2 separate regions of the Homo sapiens genome follow, and region 2 is linked to region 1. The links are contacts of gene promoters, found by promoter capture Hi-C in blood cells and fetal thymus (Javierre and others, 2016). All regions are on one chromosome and are shown on one strand. Each heading gives the region's core, a stretch centred on a gene start or on the middle of the fragment in contact. The rest is flanking DNA. Distances are from core to core; before and after follow the strand shown.

Region 1 (5,271 bases), core at 1,416-3,915:
ACAATACTCCTGGCACAAAGCAAGTAATAAATGAGTGTGCCTCCTGCCATACAGGAACCGAGGACTGGAGAGCTAGTCATGAGCCCAGAGATACCTGGCTTCATGCTCAGGAACAGCCATGTGGGCCAGAGGGCTGGAGATGTGGTCTGCACCTTGAAGGCCCTGGGAAAGTTCCTGTCCTCTATGATTCCTCTGTTCTTCAGCCACTAGACATAAAAAAAAATTGTCCTTCAAGTCCTCCTTCCTCCTTTCTTTAATCAGACAGGGGAAATAGCATGTGCATAAATAATAATTGTTTTGTAGGCTGGGAGACTGCCCCTTTAAGAGCCTCATAATGGGAGAGTCAGAAGAGCCCAGAGGTCTCAAACGGAAATGACTGGAGAACCAGCAAGTGGCATAAGTGTGTGAAGTCAGCTGGGGCGAGATTGGGATGTGCTGGAGAGTGTGCATGTACTGACGAAAGGCCATCAAATACAATTTAAAATAATTAGCCCACTCCAAAGAGTCTTCTGCAGCACGCACTTCTGCTAAGGGCTGCAGTGAGTGGGCTCTCACCTCAACCTGAACCAGACGGAGGCTGAGGCTGGGCCCCACTGAGGGGCTGTGACTTGCCCAAGGTCATCCAGGGCCAGGCCTGTGCCCACATTGGGACTCTTTTCCTCCCTCAGACAGAGGGCACTTCAGTCACTGCAGAGCAGGTGGCAGCAGCCCTTCAGTGGATGAGTTTCTCCTTTCCCAGGGTGACTGGGTGGGTGAAGGAATTGAGCAACAGGTGGCCAGGCTGCCGCCTCTCACCCTGACACATTGGTCCCCATCCCCTCATCCTACAGCCATCTCAGGGACAGATGGAGACATTCCAATGCCCTCCGGGTCCTCCACCAACCCAGACAGAGCCTGGAGTCACAATGCCCACCTAGCCAGAGGGATCAGCCAGCTAGCCAAGTGCCCCCTGTGTCTTTCATCTGTTCTTCACAAGACCCACAAGTGAAAAATGAGGATAAACCGCACATTCTACACACGATAACAACATAGCAAGTCCTTATACTGCTCTTACTGTGTGCCCGGCCCCCTTAGCAGTAGGTACTATTATTATTCAATTTTACAAAGAAACTAACTGAGGGACAGAGAGGCAAAGTAATTCCCTGCAGGTACTCTAATGAGTACGTGGCAGAGCTGGGAGCCATCCTGGTTGTCTGCCTCGAAAGACCACACTCTTTGCACTGCATCGCGGCACTTCCTGCGGGGTGGGGGGCACAATGGGAGAAGCATCTGCGTCTAATGCTGCTTTACTTTTGAGGCCAGAAAAATGGGAAGGCTCCCCTCTGACTCTGGAAGAGAGACGCAAACCGTAATCTCAACAACACAATCCCCACCTCCAACCTCAGCCGCCCTGGAGCCTCTCTCCCGCCAGTCCGCCCACTGGAACACGGGTTCCATGTGCCATCCAGGGTCAACGCCGCTCTGGGGACGCGTCAGGCCCAGCGCACAGCCTGGGCAGCTCAGCCTGTCAGCTGAGCACGGGCGCCTCAAGGGGTGCGGCCCTCTCAGAAGGAAGGTGAGTCTCCCTGGAGCCCCTGACGACAGCGAAGCGGCTGGGCGCTCTCCGGGGAGTGGGCGCGGCACCCAAGAAGGGTTTCTTACAGTTCCAAGAGAGGACCCCAGCCACAGTCACTCCAGAGCCCACCCGGGGCTTGGAGGAGGCTCTGGAAAATGAGGGATGGGGGAGTGTGCAGAACAGGGGGCGGAGGCTGGCAGGAGCCGAGGGAGGGCTTGGTCGGGTGCGAAGAGTGCCTGGGAGGAGTTAGAGTGGGGAGGGGGTGCGGCGGCGGGGAGAGAAGAGGCGGAGCTGGGGGACCAGACCGCTAAAGGAGAAAGGGGGATTCCAGGCAAGGGGAATGTGGCCAGGCAGTGCGGGAGGGCGGCAGCGGCCAGGCTAATATTCGCGACCCCGACTGGGGCGCGGCAACTTCTGCCCTCAGTCCCCACAAGCTCCCGGCCGCGATTCGCGGCCGAGAAATTCTGCGGAGGGGCCGGTGGGTCAGAGCCAGGCCAGGCAGTTGCTGAGCCTTCCCCTCCCCTCCTGGCGGGAGTGTGTGTGCAAGGGGCCAGGGGGCGGAGTCGGAGAAAGGGTTGGGGGTGTCCGTGTCCAGCGCTCCTCCGGACGCGGCTCCACAATCCAGCTGCGAGAACAGATGGACGCAGCGGCGGCTCACCTCGGGGGCTTCCTGCTCGCTGTGCGCCGAGGTCCAGGCTGAAGCGGAGATCGCAAGCCTCTGGCTCCCGCCTCTCCCAAGGGGCCTCGAGGAACCGGCTGCCGCGCCCCCTTCCCCAAGAGGAGAAGAGCGGGCGCTGACCCCGCGAGTCCTAGAACCGCGGGCGGGGGGCAGGCAGGGGGCGGGGGGCAGAGGGCCAGCTACCGGCGCGGAACGCCCATCCCAGGGGCTGGTTCAAGACTTCCACACCGAGAGCCCTTCCTGGGCCTCCAGCCCTGGAGCATCTGGAGAGCGGACCCCTGCCCGGCCACGCCCCGCCCCCGGCCCCCGCCCCGCCGACGTCGCATTAGCATGAGCGACGTAAGTGGCCCGGGCACCACTCGGGGGCTGGGACTCGCCGCGTCACAGCCCCGAGTGGAAGGGAAAAAAAAAGAGGAGGCGGCGGAGGAGGCAAGAGCCGACGCGAGGGGAGGGGAGCGCAGCGGCGGGGCTAACGGGCGGGCAAGCGGGCGGGCGGCAACAGCATGTCCCTCGGCCAGCGCGGGCGGCCTCTTAGCGCGGCGGGGGCTGCTCTGGGCGCGCCCCGGGCGAAGTGCGCCCAGTCTCCGGCCCCGGCCCCTCGGCGCGCCCGACTTCCCGGCCGCCCCTGAGCCCAGCAGCCGCGGGTCCCGGGATCGGCTAAGAGTAGCTGCAACGCCTCGCCGGACGGAGTCCTTTCCTTTCCCGGGACGCTGGGCCATGAGCTCCGCGGCCACCTGAGGCACAGGGGAGTCTGCTCGGCCAGGACAGCCTCCCCGAAGTCCCGTGCCCTCGCCTCTGCACTGCGGGACGCCAGCGCTCGGCCCTGGCGGAGGCGTCCTCGGAAGAGCATCGGGGTGGGGGCATGGAATCCGCGGAACCTGCGGGCCAGGCCCGGGCGGCGGCCACCAAGCTGTCGGAGGCTGTGGGCGCGGCGCTGCAGGAGCCCCGGCGGCAGAGGCGCCTGGTGCTTGTTATCGTGTGCGTGGCGCTGTTACTGGACAACATGCTGTACATGGTCATCGTGCCCATAGTGCCCGACTACATCGCCCACATGCGCGGGGGCGGCGAGGGCCCCACCCGGACTCCCGAGGTGTGGGAGCCCACCCTGCCGCTGCCCACTCCGGCCAATGCCAGCGCCTACACGGCCAACACCTCGGCGTCCCCGACAGCTGCGTGGCCAGCGGGCTCAGCCCTTCGGCCCCGCTACCCTACGGAGAGCGAAGACGTGAAGATCGGGGTGCTGTTTGCTTCCAAGGCTATCCTGCAGCTGCTAGTGAACCCCTTGAGCGGGCCCTTCATCGACCGCATGAGCTACGACGTGCCGCTGCTGATCGGCCTGGGCGTCATGTTCGCCTCTACAGTCCTGTTCGCCTTCGCCGAGGACTACGCCACGCTGTTCGCGGCGCGCAGCCTGCAGGGCCTGGGCTCAGCCTTCGCCGACACGTCTGGCATAGCCATGATCGCCGATAAGTACCCGGAGGAGCCGGAGCGCAGTCGTGCACTGGGCGTGGCGCTGGCCTTCATTAGCTTCGGAAGCCTAGTGGCCCCGCCCTTCGGGGGCATCCTCTATGAGTTCGCCGGCAAGCGCGTGCCCTTCTTGGTGCTAGCTGCCGTGTCGCTCTTTGACGCGCTGTTGCTGCTGGCAGTGGCCAAACCCTTCTCGGCGGCTGCACGGGCTCGGGCCAACCTGCCAGTGGGCACTCCCATCCACCGCCTCATGCTAGACCCCTACATTGCCGTGGTGGCCGGCGCGCTCACCACCTGTAACATTCCCCTCGCCTTCCTCGAACCCACCATTGCCACGTGGATGAAGCATACGATGGCGGCTTCCGAGTGGGAGATGGGCATGGCCTGGCTGCCGGCCTTCGTGCCTCATGTGCTGGGCGTCTACCTCACCGTGCGCCTGGCGGCGCGCTACCCACACCTGCAGTGGCTGTACGGCGCGCTTGGGCTGGCTGTGATCGGCGCCAGCTCGTGCATCGTGCCCGCCTGCCGCTCCTTCGCGCCGCTAGTGGTCTCACTATGCGGCCTCTGTTTTGGCATAGCCCTAGTCGACACAGCACTGCTGCCCACGCTCGCCTTCCTGGTGGACGTGCGCCATGTCTCAGTCTATGGCAGCGTCTACGCCATCGCCGACATCTCCTATTCGGTGGCCTACGCGCTCGGGCCCATAGTGGCAGGCCACATTGTGCACTCGCTGGGCTTTGAGCAGCTCAGCCTTGGCATGGGACTGGCCAACCTGCTCTATGCTCCCGTCTTGCTGCTGCTCCGCAACGTGGGCCTCCTGACGCGCTCCCGTTCCGAGCGCGATGTGCTGCTTGATGAGCCACCGCAAGGTCTGTACGATGCGGTGCGCCTGCGTGAGCGTCCTGTGTCTGGCCAGGACGGCGAGCCTCGCAGCCCGCCTGGCCCTTTTGATGCGTGCGAGGACGACTACAACTACTACTACACCCGCAGCTAGCATCCCCACTCCTCCTCCAGCCCACCCAACCGCCTTGGGTCAAGGGGGCTGCTCTGCAAGCCCACTGGCCAGCTCTGGCTCAGGGCCCACCTCCTCCAGCGAGTACCCCAGCCACTCCTCAACCTTGACTTCTGCCCAAATCCCCTCCCTGTGACCCGTTCCATATCCCTTTCTCTCTTGTCCAATGGGGCTTGGAGCACCGAGGCCAGCGAAGCCATCGCGCTCCTTGCGGAGGTGAAGAGGACCCTGAGTCCCCACCTGCGGCTCCCCTGTGTAGAGCCTGCATCTGTCTGTCCTTCCTTCCATTGCTCCCAGTGCCAAACTTGGGCCGCTGCACCGCGGCGCCTCCGCCCAAATCAATAAACTGTGTCTGTCCCAGGAGGCCGAGTCTCTTTACTGGTGGGGGGTGCGTGGAGGCGCGCAGGGCCAGAGCAGAGGGGAGGGTGAACTGGGTCTCCAAGTCCCAATCCAGACCTAAGCCAAACTAACACGTAGGCACCTGTAGCTGTTTTTCTACCTGGAAAAGGGGATAGGAAGGAAGCAAACCCAACAAAGGCTGTCACCCACGGTCACCAA
Region 2 (5,271 bases), core at 1,291-3,790, 430 kb after region 1:
CTCATTTCTTTTTGGTGCTGAATAACAGTCCATTGTCTGGGTATAGTACAGAGTTTATTAATACATTCATCTACTGAAGGACATCTTGGTTGCTTCCAAGTTTTGGCAATTGTGAAAAAAGCTTCCATACACATCTGTATGCAGGTTTTTGTGTGAACATGTTTTCTACTCACTTGGGCAAATTCCAAGGAGCATAATTGCTGGATCATACAGTAAGAATATGTAAGAAGTTGCCAAACAATCCTCCAAAGTACCATTTTGTATTCCCACTGGCAGTGAATGAGAGTTCCTGTTGCTCCCCATCTTCCCCAGCTTTGGTGTTGTCAGTGTTTTGGATTTCAGCCATTGTAACAGTCATGTAATAGTACGTCACTGCTGTTTTAATTTGTATTTCCCTAATGACACATAATGTGGAGCACAGTTATCTTTTGAAAATGTAGAACTGATCATGTTATTTCTTGCCTCAAGGTCCTATAATGACTTCTCCCTGTCTATAGAATATAATTCAGACTCCTTAGAAATGCTCCCAAGATTATGCATCTCACATTCCGGCCCCATTTTACTCATCTACAACCTCACCTCATCTTGCAACATCTCTGGTACTTCTATCCTCTAATCATCTGCATCTGCAGCTTCAGAACACATCAGCTTCTATATTGTTGCTCCTGCTCTGCTCTACTTACTATCTTGTGCACACATGGTTACCTGACAAGCACCTAATCACCTTTCAACATTCAGCTCCAATATCAACTATTCCACAAAGCTTTTATACCTACCCCCTTTACACTACTACCTACATCATATATTGCACCCATAACAATTTCTTTATTTTATTATTTCTTTATTTATTGAGACGGAGTCTCTCTCTGTCACCCAGGCTGGAGTGCAGTGGCATGATCTTGACTCACTGCAAGCTCCGCCTCCCAGGTTCATGCCATTCTCCTGCCTCAGCCTCCCGAGTAGCTGGGATTACAGGCGCCTGCCACCACGCGTGGCTAATTTTTTATATTTTTAGTAGAGATGGGGTTTCACCATGTTAACCAGAATAGTATCAAATTCCTGACCTCGTGATCTGCCCACCTTGGCCTCCCAAAGTGCTGGGATTACAGGCATGAGCCACTGTGTCCAGCCCCTAACAATTTCATTTTTAACTAAACTGAAGGGAGCACATCTGATCTCTACCACCTAGCACAGTCTTTTGCACATATTGGTACTCATTAAAGCTTTGTTCAAGGAAAGAATAGATATTTTAGTCTTTCAATTGATCCTCAGAACAAACCTGTGCTATAGGTAAGGTATTCTCCAAGTTTTAGACATTAATAAATATTTGGTTATCCTCTGTGTTAGCCTGTTCATATTGCTATAAAGGAATACCTGAGACTGGGCAATTTATAAAGAAAAGAGTTTTATTTTGGCTCACAGTTCCGTAGAGTGTACAAGGAGTATAATGCTGGTATCTGCTTCTGGTGAGGGCCTCAGGAAGTTTACAATCATGGCAAGAGGAAAGGAGCCAGCATGTTACATGGTGAGAGAACAAGAGAGAGAGAAGAAAGAGGTGCCAGGTTGTGTTTATTTGTTTGTTTAAGACAGAGTCTTGCTCTGTCACCCAGGCTGGAGTGCAGTGGCGCGATCTCAGCTCACTGCAACATCTGCCTCCTGGGTTCAAGCGATTCTCCTGCCTCAGCCTCCTGAGTAGCTGGGACTACAGATACGTGCCACCACACCTGGCTAATTTTTGTATTTTTAGTAGAGATAGGGTTTCAAGATGTTGGCCAGGATGGTCTCCATCTCCTGAAATTGTGATCTGCCAGCCTCAGCCTCCCAAAGTGCTGAGATTACAGGCATGAGCCACCATGCCTAGCCCCCAGGTTCTTTTAATCCAGATCTCATGTGAAATCAGAGTGAGAACTCATTCATTACCACAAGGGCAGCACCAAGACATTCATGAGGATCCACCCCCATGACCCAAACACCTCCCACTAGGCCCACTTCCGATACTGGCGGTCAGATTTCAACATGAGATTTGGAGGGGACAAAACATCCAAGCCATATCATGCTCCAAAAGTTTGTTTAGAGGGATGTTGGCTTCTCACAGGAATCCCATTCTGATTCACTCCAAATGAAGTCCATCAATGTTTATCCAACTCATAACATACATGCACATACAGGAATCTGCTATGAGTTTTTATAATATTAATAGGAAAGATAATTAATTTGGGAATCTGAATTGCATTGTTCAAACTTCTAGTGATCCTAAAGGGAGGGCATTACAGAAAGGAAAGTTGTTTCTTGTAGCATAGCTCTTTTGAGTGTTGTTGCACCACATTTCAAAATGATGGGTATTAGAGTAATACAAGGTACCAGGCTAATAATACTGCTGGTGATAGTGGTAAAGGGTCATTGCTCTTAAATAAAAGCTAAATTTAAAAGCTGCATTGCTTATATATGACTTTGTATGGAGCTCTCTAAACTTAACCCCCTTTCTTTCACTCATTCAAACAACTGCTTTTATAATTTTGGATAACATGAATTCTTAAAAACATACTTATGCTATATCAAATAAGACTGTCCTATAGGGTCACCAGTGTGTGTATCCCCGAAGCCAACAGTACTCCTACCTACATAGTTGCGGCTCTAGCAACAGAAGTCAGGTGTCAGGACTGCAAAATGCACATGACAGAAATAAAGACATGAGTGACTATGACTGCCAAAGGAATCTGGATTGTTTCCTTCACCACAGTGTTCTTCCATAGTGAGACCCTGAAAATAATAGGCTGGGGGAGGGTAGAAGATAACAAACAGATTTGCAAGTCCTTCACCTATAATGAGAATGGATAATTCAATTATATGCCAGAAGAAAAAGCACAACCCCGTTCAGTATTAATTGTGCTGGAACTTCCACCATAAGTCTGGGTCCAGTCAATGGGGTAATTTCCAATATCCTAAAAGAACTAAGATTGATAACCAAAAGGAAAATGTTTCCCTCTAGAAGATAGTTATGCTTCTCCTCAGGAGTAGAAATCACTGTAGCAGAGGACAAAATGAGGCCATGAAATCTGGTTAAGCCAGACTGGATGCCTAGAGGGTAGCTGAGGAACAAATGGAAGCTGCAGCAGGACAAAGACCCAGCCAGTACTAAAAGCTGGGTCCATGAACAGCTTCTTGAAATGGTGTGTGGTCGTGCTTAGCTGAGCATGCTGTGGGACTCATGATGTTGGAAAATGAGGGGGCAATGAAGACTTAAAGATGGGATGGAAAAACAGCTAAAAAAAACAAAACAGAAGGGGAACAAGAAACAAAACAGAAAAAAAGCTGGCCACGGTAGCTCATGCCTGTAATCCCAGCAATTCAGGAGGCCAAGGTGGGAGAATCACTTGAGGTAAGAAGGTTGAGACCAGCCTGGGCAACATAGCAAGATCCTTGTCTCTACAAAATTAAAAAAAAAATTAGCTGGGCATGATGGCACACATCTGTAGTCCCAGCCATTCAGGAGGCTAAGGTGGGAGGATCACTGGAGTCCTGGAGCTCAAAGGTGCAGCAAGGTATGATTATGCCACCGCACCCCAGCCTGGGCAACACAACCAGACCTTGTCTCAGAAAAAAAACAAAAAAAAATGGGGGCAGGTAGAGAAAAAAGTATTTCCAGAATTTTTTACAATTAAAACATATATCTAGCTATTAAAAGTAATGACAGCAAAAAGATTTCCAAATCAATTCCCAAAGCATTTCTCTCATCTCTTCTGAAAACGTCTGAAAAGACAACTATAAAGATGAAATAGAAGTTAAAGCTAAACAAGGCAATAGCGCTAAATATGTAATTTCAGTAACTCAGAATTTGCTCCATCCTCTGCTCTAAAAAAGCTTAGCTACAGAAGAGCAGTTACCTTTGAAACTTTTTCCCCAACATAAAGATATCCAGAATGTGAAGCTGCCATTAAAAATATTGCCATAGGCTGGGCGCAGTGTCTCATGCCTGTAAACCCAGCACTTTGGGAGGCTGAGGCATGTGGATCACAAGGTCAGGAGATTGAGACCATCCTGGCTAACACGGTGAAACCCCATCTCTACTAAAAACACAAAAAAATGAGCCAGGCACGGTGACAGGCACCTGTAGTCACAGCTATTTGGGAGGCTGAGGCAGGAGAATGGAGTGAACCCAGCAGGCGGAGCTTGCAGTGAACAGAGATCACGCCACTGCACTCCAGCCTGGGGGACAGAGCGAGACTCTGTCTCAAAAAAAAAAAAAAAAAAAAAAAGTCCAATGGCAATTTAGATTATAAAACATGGGAAGTAAAATAAAACTTATATTTGTTAAACTAAGTTGTATTTAAACTAAGTATTAAACTTAGTGCATCAGTCTTGAAGAAAGCTCATGCCTAAGACTTTCCTTTGAACTCAAATCTAGACAGCTGGGCTCTCTGACCTCACAGAGCTTCCCATGATTTCTTCCTCCAACATCTGCCATGATATCTCTTCCTACTGTGGTTCTGCACTATATTACGACAAGCGACTTGTTTATTTCAAGGGATCAACATTAATTACAGAGGCTATAAGGAAGCCGAATGTAAAAATACCAAGAACTCAAAAACTTCCAACTCCAGAGAAGAATGACATTTTAATTCTAAAAATCCTAAAGCAGATTGAAAAAAAAAGTGTAAAAACTCATGCAACACACATGTGAACAAGACACAATGAAAAACTGCTAGTAATCCTTTTACCACAAGTCTGAATGTGGCCTTTAGAAAGCATTTAGGGAAATTCTACTCGACTGTGCTCACACCCCTTCAAATCAAAGAACTCCCAAGCACTTGCATAAGTGCTGTATCTCTGGAGTCTAGAGTCTTACAAATCAAAGTGGAGTCCACAAGCCAGCAGCAGATTATGCAGAATTTCAGGCCCCGCCCCTATTTTCTGAGTCAGAACCTGCATTTCACAGGGTGCCCAGGTGATTTCCTAAACATGAAGGTTTGAGAAGTGCTCCTCAATGTTTAGCAGTGACTAAATGCTGAAATCCACTAGAGAGCATCACAAAACTCCAATGACGAGGCTGTACCCCAACCAGATTAATTCAGAATCTCTGGAGCTGGGATCCACTGTCAGCACTCATTAGGTCTTTTCTTTTTATTTTTTTTCCTTTTTTGAGACAGAGTCTCGCTCTGTGGCCCTGGCTGCAGTGCAGTGGCACGATCTTGGCTCACTGCAACCTCTGCCTCCCAGGTTCCAGTGATTCTCCTGCTTCAGCCTCCTGAGTAGCTGGGATTACAGGCAGGC

What was found. The method cuts DNA at HindIII sites, captures the fragments that hold promoters and counts their contacts. A CHiCAGO score of 5 or more calls a contact.
Region 2: a fragment that was not itself captured here is called in contact with the fragment with the promoter of SLC18A3 in region 1 in 1 of 17 cell types (erythroblasts); the score reaches 6.5 in erythroblasts.

The regions. Positions count from the first base shown.
Region 1 is chr10:49,607,645-49,612,915 of GRCh38, forward strand. SLC18A3 (solute carrier family 18 member A3) reads left to right here and starts at 2,666. Exons shown (of 1, transcript NM_003055.3): 1 at 2,666-5,076. The coding sequence starts at 3,097. The coding sequence ends at 4,695. It also overlaps a transcript of CHAT not described here. RefSeq lists enhancers at 1,003-1,798, 1,799-2,593, 3,638-4,534, 4,535-5,271. The HindIII fragment of the contact is 17,270 bases long and covers 1-5,271 here.
Region 2 is chr10:50,040,629-50,045,899 of GRCh38, forward strand. It overlaps the pseudogene FAM21EP. Among named protein-coding and RNA genes, the nearest start is that of WASHC2A, 25 kb to the right of the region's middle. The HindIII fragment of the contact is 2,638 bases long and covers 1,222-3,859 here.